Regions from separate parts of the Homo sapiens genome. Here all the other regions are linked to region 3. Evidence: promoter capture Hi-C in human tissues and cell types (Jung and others, 2019). All regions are on one chromosome and are shown on one strand. Each heading gives the region's core, a stretch centred on a gene start or on the middle of the fragment in contact. The rest is flanking DNA. Distances are from core to core; before and after follow the strand shown.

Evidence for each region. Contacts are between HindIII fragments. The study calls those that stand out against the background at their distance.
Region 1: a fragment that was not itself captured here is called in contact with the fragment with the promoter of JAKMIP1 in region 3 in 2 of the 25 tissues and cell types used here (pancreas and thymus).
Region 2: a contact is called between a fragment that was not itself captured here and the fragment with the promoter of JAKMIP1 in region 3, in 3 of the 25 tissues and cell types used here (dorsolateral prefrontal cortex, mesendoderm cells and thymus).

The regions. Positions count from the first base shown.
Region 1 is chr4:6,263,743-6,267,007 of GRCh38, reverse strand. No RefSeq gene overlaps it. Among named protein-coding and RNA genes, the nearest start is that of WFS1, 4.5 kb to the left of the region's middle. RefSeq lists an enhancer at 1,376-2,575. The HindIII fragment of the contact is 5,964 bases long and covers 1-3,265 here.
Region 2 is chr4:6,076,563-6,079,789 of GRCh38, reverse strand. It overlaps JAKMIP1 (janus kinase and microtubule interacting protein 1), which reads left to right. Exons shown (of 21, transcript NM_001099433.2): 8 at 792-851. Among named protein-coding and RNA genes, the nearest start is that of C4orf50, 60 kb to the right of the region's middle. The HindIII fragment of the contact is 8,055 bases long and covers 1-3,227 here.
Region 3 is chr4:6,199,287-6,202,796 of GRCh38, reverse strand. JAKMIP1 (janus kinase and microtubule interacting protein 1) reads left to right here and starts at 2,248. Exons shown (of 21, transcript NM_001099433.2): 1 at 2,248-2,544. JAKMIP1-DT (JAKMIP1 divergent transcript) reads right to left here and starts at 2,064. Exons shown (of 4, transcript NR_037863.1): 1 at 1,858-2,064. RefSeq lists an enhancer at 681-730 and silencers at 1,833-2,592, 2,863-3,212. The HindIII fragment of the contact is 28,205 bases long and covers 1-3,510 here.

The DNA.
Region 1 (3,265 bases), core at 512-3,011, 65 kb before region 3:
AGTAGAAGATCACAGCAGACATTTGAAAAATGGCAAATTACTATTGATAAGGAAGAACGCATGATGGAAAGCATTCACGGGAAGAGTGGTATTATGTAAGGGTGCCAGGCACAATCCACAAAGATTTCATTGTCATGAATCTGAATGAGCCAGAAAATCTAGTAGCCACACACTTAAAGCAGTAACTGCTAGAAATACTAGAACTTATTAAAACACAACTCTGGTGGGAGAAAGAGCCAGCTGTTCAATGCTATCTTTTCTAGGACACCTGTCCTCATTCCCCCAAGAGCTGAGCTCTGCATGTTGCTGCTGAGTATTGAATGAATGAATGGATGGATGGATGGATGAATCACCTATGCAAGGACTTCATATAAGCTCTTTCTTGCCCATAGGACAGTGTCCAAACTCTTTAACCTGACATCCAAATATACCCCCCACAATTCAGTCCTTTGATGTCTGCCCATGATTTTCAGACTCTGCATTCAAGTTCTTGGCCCACTTCCTTCCCTACACCTATTTAAAACCTACTTCCATTTACTCAACAAACATTTAGTGACTTTTGGCCAGGCGTGGTGGCTCACACCTGTAATCCTAGCCCTTTGGGAGGCCGAGGTGGGTGGATCACTTGAGGTCAGCAGTTCGAGACCAGCCTGGCCAACATGGAGAAACCCCATCTCTACTAAAAATACAAAAAAATTAGCCGGGCGTCATGGCACATGCCTGTAATCCCAGCTACACAGGAGGCTGAGGCAGGAGAATCGCTTGATCCCAGGAACTGGAGGTTGCAGTGAGCAGAGATCATGCCACTGCACTCCAGCCTGGGCGACAGAGTAAAACTCTGTCTCAAAAATAATAAGAATAATAATAAAATAAATAAAAATTAAAAAATATAAACATTTAGTGACATCCTGCCTGTTCCAGGCATTGGACTACATGCCAAGTATTCAAAGAAAATGAGGACAGAGGCTTGGTGAGTTGTCATTTGAAAGACAGCAGAGTGTGGCGGTTTACAGGCTATTGGTGTACAAGGCCCCCAAAGAGATCACTTCCTGGAGCCTGTGAATGGTACCTTATTTAGAAAAGGGTTTTTGCAGATGTGATTAAGGATTTTGAGAAGGGGCCATTAGCCTGGCTTATCTCCTTGCAGGAGAGAGGCAGACAGAGATTTGACCACACACGGAGAAGTTGATGTGGACATAGAGCAGAGAGAGATTCCAAGACGCTGGCATTGAAGATAGGAATTATGTGGCCACAAGTCAAGGAATGCAGGCAGTCCCTGGAATCTGGAAGAGCAGGGAACAGATTCTCCTTGATTTTTGCCCAGTGACACTGATTTCAGACTTCCGGCCTTCATAACTGTGGCAGAATCCATTTCTGTGGTTTAAGCTACTGAGTGTGGCAATGAGTTTTTAGCCCACTGGGTTAATGAGATAAGAACAACATGGGCCAGGCATGGTGGCTCACGCCTGTGATCCCAGCACTTTGGGAGGCCTGGAGGTGGGGGGTGGATCACCTGAGGTCGGGAGTTTGAGACCAGCCTGACCAACATGGTGAAACCCCGTCTCTACTAAAAATACAAAATTAGCCGGGCTTGATGGCGCATGCCCGTAATCCCAGCTACTCGGGAAGCTGAGGTTGCGGTGAGCCAAGATCACACCATTGCACTCTAGCCTGGGCAACAAGAGCGAAACTCCATCACACACAAAAAACAACAACAAAAAAACAACATGTGCGGCTGGTTGGGCATGGTAGCGCACACCTGTCATCCCAGCACTTTGGGAGGCCAAGCCAGGGGGATTGCTTGGGCCCAGAAGTTCAAGACCAGCCTAGGCAACATGGCAAAAACCCATCTCCACAAAAAAATTTAAAAATCAGCCAGACGTGGTGGCATGTGCCCATAGTCCCAGCTACTCAGGAAGCTGAAATGGGAGGATTGCTTGAACTGGGGAGTTTGAGGCTGCAGTGAGCCAAGATTGCACCACTGCACTCCAGCCTGGGCATCAGAGTGAGACCCTGTCTCAAAAGAAGAGAAGAGAAGAGAAGAGAAAAGAAAAGAAAAAGTAAAAGAGATAAGGAAAGAAAAAGTAAAAGAGATAAGAATAGAAAAGAACAGAACATGTTTGGGCATGTCGGCCACACATTGGACTTCTAGCACAGCGAAACCCTAGGACTAGCCTTGTCAGCATCCCTGGGAGCCAGGCCCAGGAATCTGCATTTTAACAGGTTCCTGGGGGGTTTGTGAGACATAGGAACATTTGAGACCCATGAGTATAAAGCAGTGTGGTTCATAGTGTGATGGGTCCACCAGACCAGCAACATCAGCATCCAGCATTCCTCAGTCACCTGGACGCCTGTTACGAATGCAGAATCCCGCGCCAACCATGGACCTCCTCAGTCAGAATTTGCATTTTAATAAGATGCCCTTGGGATTTGCATGCACATTAAGGTTGGAGCCAGTGGTGGCATATGCCTGTAGTCCCAGGTACTCGGGAGGCTTGGGCAGGAGGATTGCTTGAGCCCAGGAGTTCAAGACCACCCTGGATGACATAGTGAGACCCTGTTTCTAAATAAATAAATAAAGCAAGCTAGAGAAGCCATGCTGCAAGCTGGAGGTGCTTAGCTCAGGCTATGCACATAGCGCCACCTGGAGAGCTTGTCCTGCCCAGGCCAGCTGGACCAGAAGTCTGCATTCTATGGGGAGTCCTGGATAGGGGTGCAGCAGAGGAACCGCATGGGTGCCTTTGCAATTTAGCAAGGTCTGGAGCTCACTCAGGCCATGTGCCCCATCCACTGCCTCTTTCCTGAGGCCATCCCACCAGGCCTTGACCACATCTAAGGTAGGAAGCTCTCTTTGCTGCTATACCCCGACAGATCTTCCTAACACAATGTGACACACGGGGCAGCCTCCCTCACTGTCCGAGGGTCTGAGGGTATGGAAGCTTCCCAGGATCACACACCCTGCAGCTGCTGGGCCGTAGAGCCTCTGGGCTCCCACCCCCCTCCTTCGTCCTCTCCCACTTCCCTGCTCATATCCCACCCTGGGCCCACCACTCCTCCCTCCTTCCCAGTGTTCCCTTTATAAACCTGAGTTCCCTGCCCACTCTACAGTCTCCTTGGAATCACAGCCCAAGTGGCTGGAGTTGTGGCTGGTGGGGGTGTCGTGGGGGGCTCGGTGCTGGTCACACGGCTCTGTGTCACCAGGGCTGGTGCCACATCAGAGGCCTACGCCTGCCAGCACCTCCACACACACCCCCGTGCACACACC
Region 2 (3,227 bases), core at 6-2,505, 120 kb after region 3:
AGCAGTTGCAGACTGTGAGTTTAGGCCCACAAACTTGAACCTTATAACCAGACCAGCACCTTGCTAAGACTGCCTGTGTGAGTTTTGGACGTGTATATGGGGCGTGCATCTATCAAAGGGGGTTGAGTATGTCCTAAGCGGTGGAGAATTGCATCCAGAGAATTCCACAGCTCTCTGTGAAAGGAACTTCGGCAACAGGCAGAGAACACCTGCAGGGAGCTTTAGTTGGATCTTAGAAGTAGAACGTGTTCTGCTCACCAAAGTGGGTGTGTGATGGTTCCATGCACTGGTTTTCAAAGAATAGAAAAGCTAGTGATCAAAATTCTAGAAAAGGCTTTGATTATAATTTTCATGTTCATTTTGCCTGCCTCCATCTCCCTCTACCTCTTTAACTTCTCTCTTTCTTCCTTTCACCCATCCATCCATCCATCCATCCACCCACCCATCTGTCCACCCATCCATCCATCCACTCACCCATTCTTTCATCCTTCCATCCACTTATCTATGCATACATCTATCTATCCATCCATCTTTGCTTCATTACACAAAAGACTCAATGCAGCTTAGGATGAAAAATATATTTCAGTGAAATAACAATAAAGTCAAAAGGTGGATAATAAACTCTCCCTGTAGCTCTCAGTTCAGAGAAGCAGCCATCACTTGGGCACTTAGAACTTCAACTAGCCATGCCTGGTGCGGATGGGCAGGCCCAGCTCCCTTTGAGAGCCAGTGGCTTTGGTTTGTGAGATGTGAGGCTGGCTGGAAATGCCAACCGTTGTGTTTCCTTCTAGGAGAGAGAACGGCTGTTGCGCTCCAAAAGGCATCGAGGGAAAAGTCTGAAACCGCCCAAGGTGAGCCTGCGATGGTGCACCTGCCCTACCTTGCCGCTGTGTCACGGATCTGCAGGGCAGATGGGTCGTGGAGTGGGGAGGTTTTACAGAGGGGTCCTGAAGCAGACACACACATCTCTGCATGCCTGATGATGAAAAGCCTGTCATCACCGTCTCTCAAAGCAACATAAATATGGCCGTGTCATGTGACCCAGTTATTGTAATTTATTCATGGAAAACTTCCTGATGTATTCTCCACTTAGGCTTCAGGGTATATTCACCCAAAATTAAAAACATAAATACTTAAACCTTTTGAAGGATTTAAGGGACATTCAGGGTTGGTTTATATGAGAGCATATCCTGTTCTAAAAAAATCAGGAGCTTTGTGTTTTTTTGGAATCATGCAGAACTGTAGTCTTTTTTGGAAAATATAGGTCTTTTGCTATTTCCTAGTAACAGTGTCTGAAGGAGCTGGGCTTATAAAATTCAAATGCCCACAGGGACCAATCTGGAATGTAAAGAGCGCACTGGAGCTGATACCAAAAAAAAAAAAAAAAGCATAGTTTGCCTTTAAACCTGTAAACCTATTTTTGGCTCCCACAAAGACACAGTTCTCCTCTCCATTTTTTTTTTGTTTTTTTTTTTTAGACAGAGTCTCACTCTGTTGTCCAGGCTGGAGTGCAGTGACACCATCTCGGCTCACTGCAAACTCCACCACCCAGGTTTAAATGATTCTCCTGCCTCAGCCTCCCGAGTAGCTGGGACTACAGGCACATGCCACCACGCCCGGCTAAATTTTGTATTTTTAGTAGCGGCAGGGTTTCACCATTTTGGCTAGGCTGGTCTTCTCTCCTTTTTATTGAACACAAGTGCCCCGTTTGGTTTATCTTTTGATGGAGATGTGGTTATAGAGAAATATTTCTCATCTATAAGGGAAACAGCTGTGCAAATGTGATAGTGAATGGCCAAAGACATGTGGTCTTGGTGTCAGGGTGACAACAGGGAATGGTGGGGACTGTGGCAAACTGGGCCCTGAATCCTGGTTGCTATAAGAAGGTGGACCGATGGCATCAGATAGTCCAGTTTTTCAAGGGAAATATAAATCCTTGTATGTTAGCTTCCTAGGGCTGCCTTAACAAAGTACCACAAAATCAGTGGCTTAGAGCCACCGAAAAAGACCGGGCACAGTGGCTCATGCCTGTAATTCCAGCACTTTGAAAGGCCAGGGTGGGTGGATCGCTTGAGCCCAGGAGTTTGAGATCAGCCTGGGCAACATAGCAAGACCCTGTCTCTACAAAAAATTAAAAAAATTAGCTGGATGTGGTGGCACCTGAAGTCCCAGCTACTTTGGAGGCTGAAGCAGGAGGACTGCTTGAGCCCAGGAGGTCAAGGCTGTAGTGAGTCATGATTTTGCCACTGAGCTCCAGCCTCAGTGACAGAGCAAGACCCTGTCTCAAAAAAAAAAAAAAAAAAAAAAGGAAAGGAAATGTATTATCTTACAGTTCTAGAGGCCAGAATGCTGAAATTAAGGTGTCGGTAGAGCCACGTTCCCTCCCTCTAAAACCCGTAGCAGACCCCTCCTTTCCTCTTCCTAGCTTAGAGTGGTTTCCCAGCAATCTTTGGTGTCCTTGGTTTGCAGCTTGAACTCCAATCTCTGCCTTCATTGTCAGTGACATTCTACCTGTGTGTCTCTGTGGCTTCACATATAAAGCCACCACTCATGCTGGATTAGGAGTCCACCCTACTCCAACGTGACCTCATGATAATTTAACTACATCTGCAATGATCCTATTTCCAAATAAGTCACATTCTGAGGTACTGGGATTAGGACCTCGACCTATCTTTTTGGGGGGATACAGTTTAATCCATAACACCTTACTTTATATGAAATTGAAGGATTTAAATGCTGGATTTTAAATGTCTGTAATTTTATATGTCCAAATACAGGTTGAACATCCGTAATCCAAAATCCAAAAATCCGAAATCCAAAATGCTCCAAAATCTGAAACTTTCTCAGCACCAACATGAGGCCAGGGAAATTTCACACCTGGCCTCATGTGACAGGTTGCAGTAAAAACACTATCAAAACTTTGATTCATGCACAAAATTATTTAAAATATTATATACAATTCCCTTCAGGCTATGTATTATATATAAAGTGTATATGAAACAAATGAATTTCATGTTTAGACTTGGGTCCCATCCCCAAGATACCTTATTCTGTTTATGCAAATATTCCAAAATCTGAAAAAACATCCAAAATTCCTTCTGGTTCCAAGTATTTCAGATAAAGGACACTCAGCCTGTAAAATATATACCTGTGGGCCACATAAAATATATCTATGGGTGCAATTTGGCTCCCAGGCTGCCTCCTGGTGGCCTTTACTGCAGCGTTCA
Region 3 (3,510 bases), core at 999-3,498:
TCCTGAGGGTGAAGGAGTGAGAGAGGATAAAGTGAGGAACAGCTTGCCTTTGCATTTCTTGTTAAGAGAGAATAAAAATCTGTTTAAGCCGCTGTCTAGTTGTGATCCCGATTACTCACAGCCAGACATAACCCTTAATCTACACACATGTATCGAAGTACCACCAGCTGGGCTTTTTAAACAACAGAAATGCACTGTCTCACTTCTGTAAGCTAGAAGTCTGAAATCAGGTGTCAGCTGGTCCACGCTCCCTATGAAGCCCTGGGGAAGGATCTGTCCCAGGCCGCTCTCATGGCTTCCGGGGGTTTGCTCCCATCTTTGGCATTTCCTTGGCTAGCTGATGCCTCGACCTGATCTCTACCTTCATGTTCACACGGCATGCTCCCGTTGCTTGTGTCTCTGTATCCAATTTCCCCCTTTTATAAGGATAGAAGGCAGACTGGATTAGGAATCCAACCTACTCCATTGTGACCTCATCTTAGCTAATTACATCTACAACGACCCTATTTCCAAGTAAGGTCATATTCTGAGGTCCTGGGAGTGAGCACTTCAACATACGAGTTTTTTTTTTTGAGGGGGTGGGTGGGGGGAACACAATTCATCCCAGGATACCTGGGCATTGTCCCTGATTGTCCCTCCCTCCCTCCTGTCCACGTCCAAGCCGTGAGCATGTCCTGCCAATTCTGCACCCAGATTGCTCTGATGCGCTGATACTTCACTGTATCAGCGTGGAGGAGGCCCCCACACTGCCTCCTTGTCCCCACTCTTGACTACTTCAGCCCATGCCCCAAGGGCAGCCAGGGCATCTGCTAAAGATAGTCTCACATCTGCTCACAGATATCCTAGTTCCTCCTGACCCCCTGAACCTTAGAGGTCTGCACTTCCTCCTCTTCTGAAGTTAGGCATGGCCATGTGACCTGCTCTGGCCAATGAAACGTGAGCAGAAGTGACGAGAGTCCCTTCGGGGAGGAAGCCTTCAAAGCCAGCATAATTGTCACCTTTCATTCACATTGCTGCACCATGTGGGTGCTCGGCTGGCAGACAGCCCCAGCAGCTTGGGCTCCCAACCACTCTGATGAACAGAGCCCCATTGACCGAGGCAGGATGTATGATGTGGGCAAGACACACCAGGGAGATTTGGGTTTGGTTGTTACTGTGGCTAACATAGCTTATCCTGACTGATGCACTTTAAAAAATATCAATCTGACAATGGTCCATGGGACCACCTTCCAGGTGAGACAGTCTCCAAACTCTCGCCAGCCTGCAAGACCTTGCAAGTGCTGCCCCTCTGTGCCCCCGCCCCCCATCTTCCACACACTCCCTCTCACCATTCTGTGGCCCAGATACTTTTATCAGATTCTCAAATATGTCCCGTTCACAGCAGTCAGGGTGTTCCCCCATGCTGCTCCCTTTGGTGGGTGCTCTTCCCTGCCTTCTCCTTGCTAGAAAGTAAGCTCTGGTGGGCAGCCGCTTCCTCTCTGCTGTTCACTGTGGTGTCCCCACATCTTAGTGACTACCTGGCACACAGCAAGTGCTCAATAAATATTTGTCTAATGACACTGAATGAATGTTTGCCCAGCTGAGTCCTGCCCCTCCCAAGTCTCAGCTCGACAGCACATCTTTCATTTGGCTATGACCTGCTGATGTGGCTTTGCTGGGGGCAGCCTGGGCTGGTGGGGGGAGGCTCCCTAGGCTGGCATCCGCCCAGCTCTGCCGCTTGCTGGCTCTGCCGCCGTTAGCGTGCGCTTTAACCTCTGACCTTCAGACCTCTCATGCGTACAGAGGGGGACATGGATCTCCGGGGTCGCTGCGTCTTCCTGACCACTGACGGCCAGGACGGCCCCAGCCCCGCTTTACCTGCAAGCCCCACTCCAGGCTCGAGCCCCCGAGGGCAGGGATAGCTTCCCGGGTCCCGAGGCTTGACCAGAGCCTGAAAGCTCCTGCCGGGGGTTGCTCCGACTCAGCGAGGCGCCAGGCTGCCCGGCGCGGCTGGGGGCGCTCAGCGCCGGGACCCCAGCCCTGCCCCGGCCGCCCGCTGGCCCAGTGCGCACGCTCCGGCAGCTCAGCTCCCCCTCCCACGGCGGCAGGAGAGCTCCCGGCATCTGCCCGGGGCGGGGGCGGGGGCGGGGCGGGGCGGGCGCCGCGCCCTCCTGCCTGACTGGCAGGAAGACAGACCAATCGGAGGGGCTCCCCGGGGGGAGGGGCGGTGCCGTGCCTGAGCCGGGCGCGGGCGACCGAGGGAGCTGCAGCCACCCGCGTGCGGCACGCGCCGGCCGCCTGCCCGGATCGCGGCCACCAGTGCCGCGGCCTCTCGACTCCCGCCCCGCCGAGCCGCGCGCGCGACTGCCATCCTCCTCAATTGCTTTTTACGATTTTTTTTGTGCATGCATTCATTTTCTGTTCCGTTTTGTCCTTTTTAAGGCGGTGGCGGCGGCGACAGCGGCGTAAGCTCGCAGCGGGGAGGGGGCGGCCGGAGGATGCGGCGCGGGGCTGCGCTCGCTACGTCCGCTGCTGCTGCCCGGCTCGGGCCTGAGCGCCGAGCAGGTGGGTACAGGTGCGCCGGGGGGCGGGAGGCGAGCGCTGGCCAGAGGGAACCCGTGGACCCGGCGACCGAGGGGCGGACCTGGCGGCAAGGGACGCGGCGACCGGTGCCGCCCCGCCCCATCGTCCATCTCCCCCTCCTCCGGCCATCGCGCCCCCTCTGGGTCCCCCTTCCACTCTCGCATCCCACCTCAGTGGTCCCCCACCCTTCCATACCCATCCCCCACTCCTCTTCAGACCCCCTTGCAAAATCTCCCAGCCGCTGCGTCGCTTCCCCCAACACCCCCTCCCGGTCCCGCCCCCAGCCCCCAGCTCTCCTTCACGCCACCCCTATTTCCACTCTTCTCCGGATTCCGCCCTCAAGCCAAGGAGCGGGAGGGGGACCCACCCGGTGCCTGCCGGAGTGGCGCGGGGGGTGTGGCCGGCCCGTCCCCTCCGTGTCTTCCGCAGGGTAGGTCACAGTCCCCCAGATCTCCGCCCAGGTGGCAAAGAAGATGGAGCTGGGGGCCGCGCCCCGGCGGCGCGGGGCCCGAAGGCGAGGCCGCCCAGCCCGCACCCCACCCCACGCACGGCACACGCCGCCGCGGCCCCTGCCACGCACACCCTCGCGCTGCTCCGCCCACGTGGGCGCCGGGGAGGAGGCTCGAGAGATGGGAAGAAAGGCTGGCACCCACCCTCCTGCCGGGCCGGCGCGCCCTGGGCGCACTGGCCTCCGGAGATGGCGCGCAAGGATTGACTCTCGTGGTGCCAGACACCTTGCCGGGCGCCCTGCGTCGGGGCCAGCGGCCTCGCTGGCCTGCGTCAGTGCGCTGCGGCCTCGCCTCCCAGCCCCTCGGTCCTTCGCTCCATCCCCCCTGCTGTGGGCTCCTGAGCATCCGGCCTGGGCAGCCCAGATAGAGGCCGCTTACGAGGCTGGCGCTTCTTTTCGCCTTAGAAGCATCCCGCTCCCACACACCCCAGCTCGCCGGT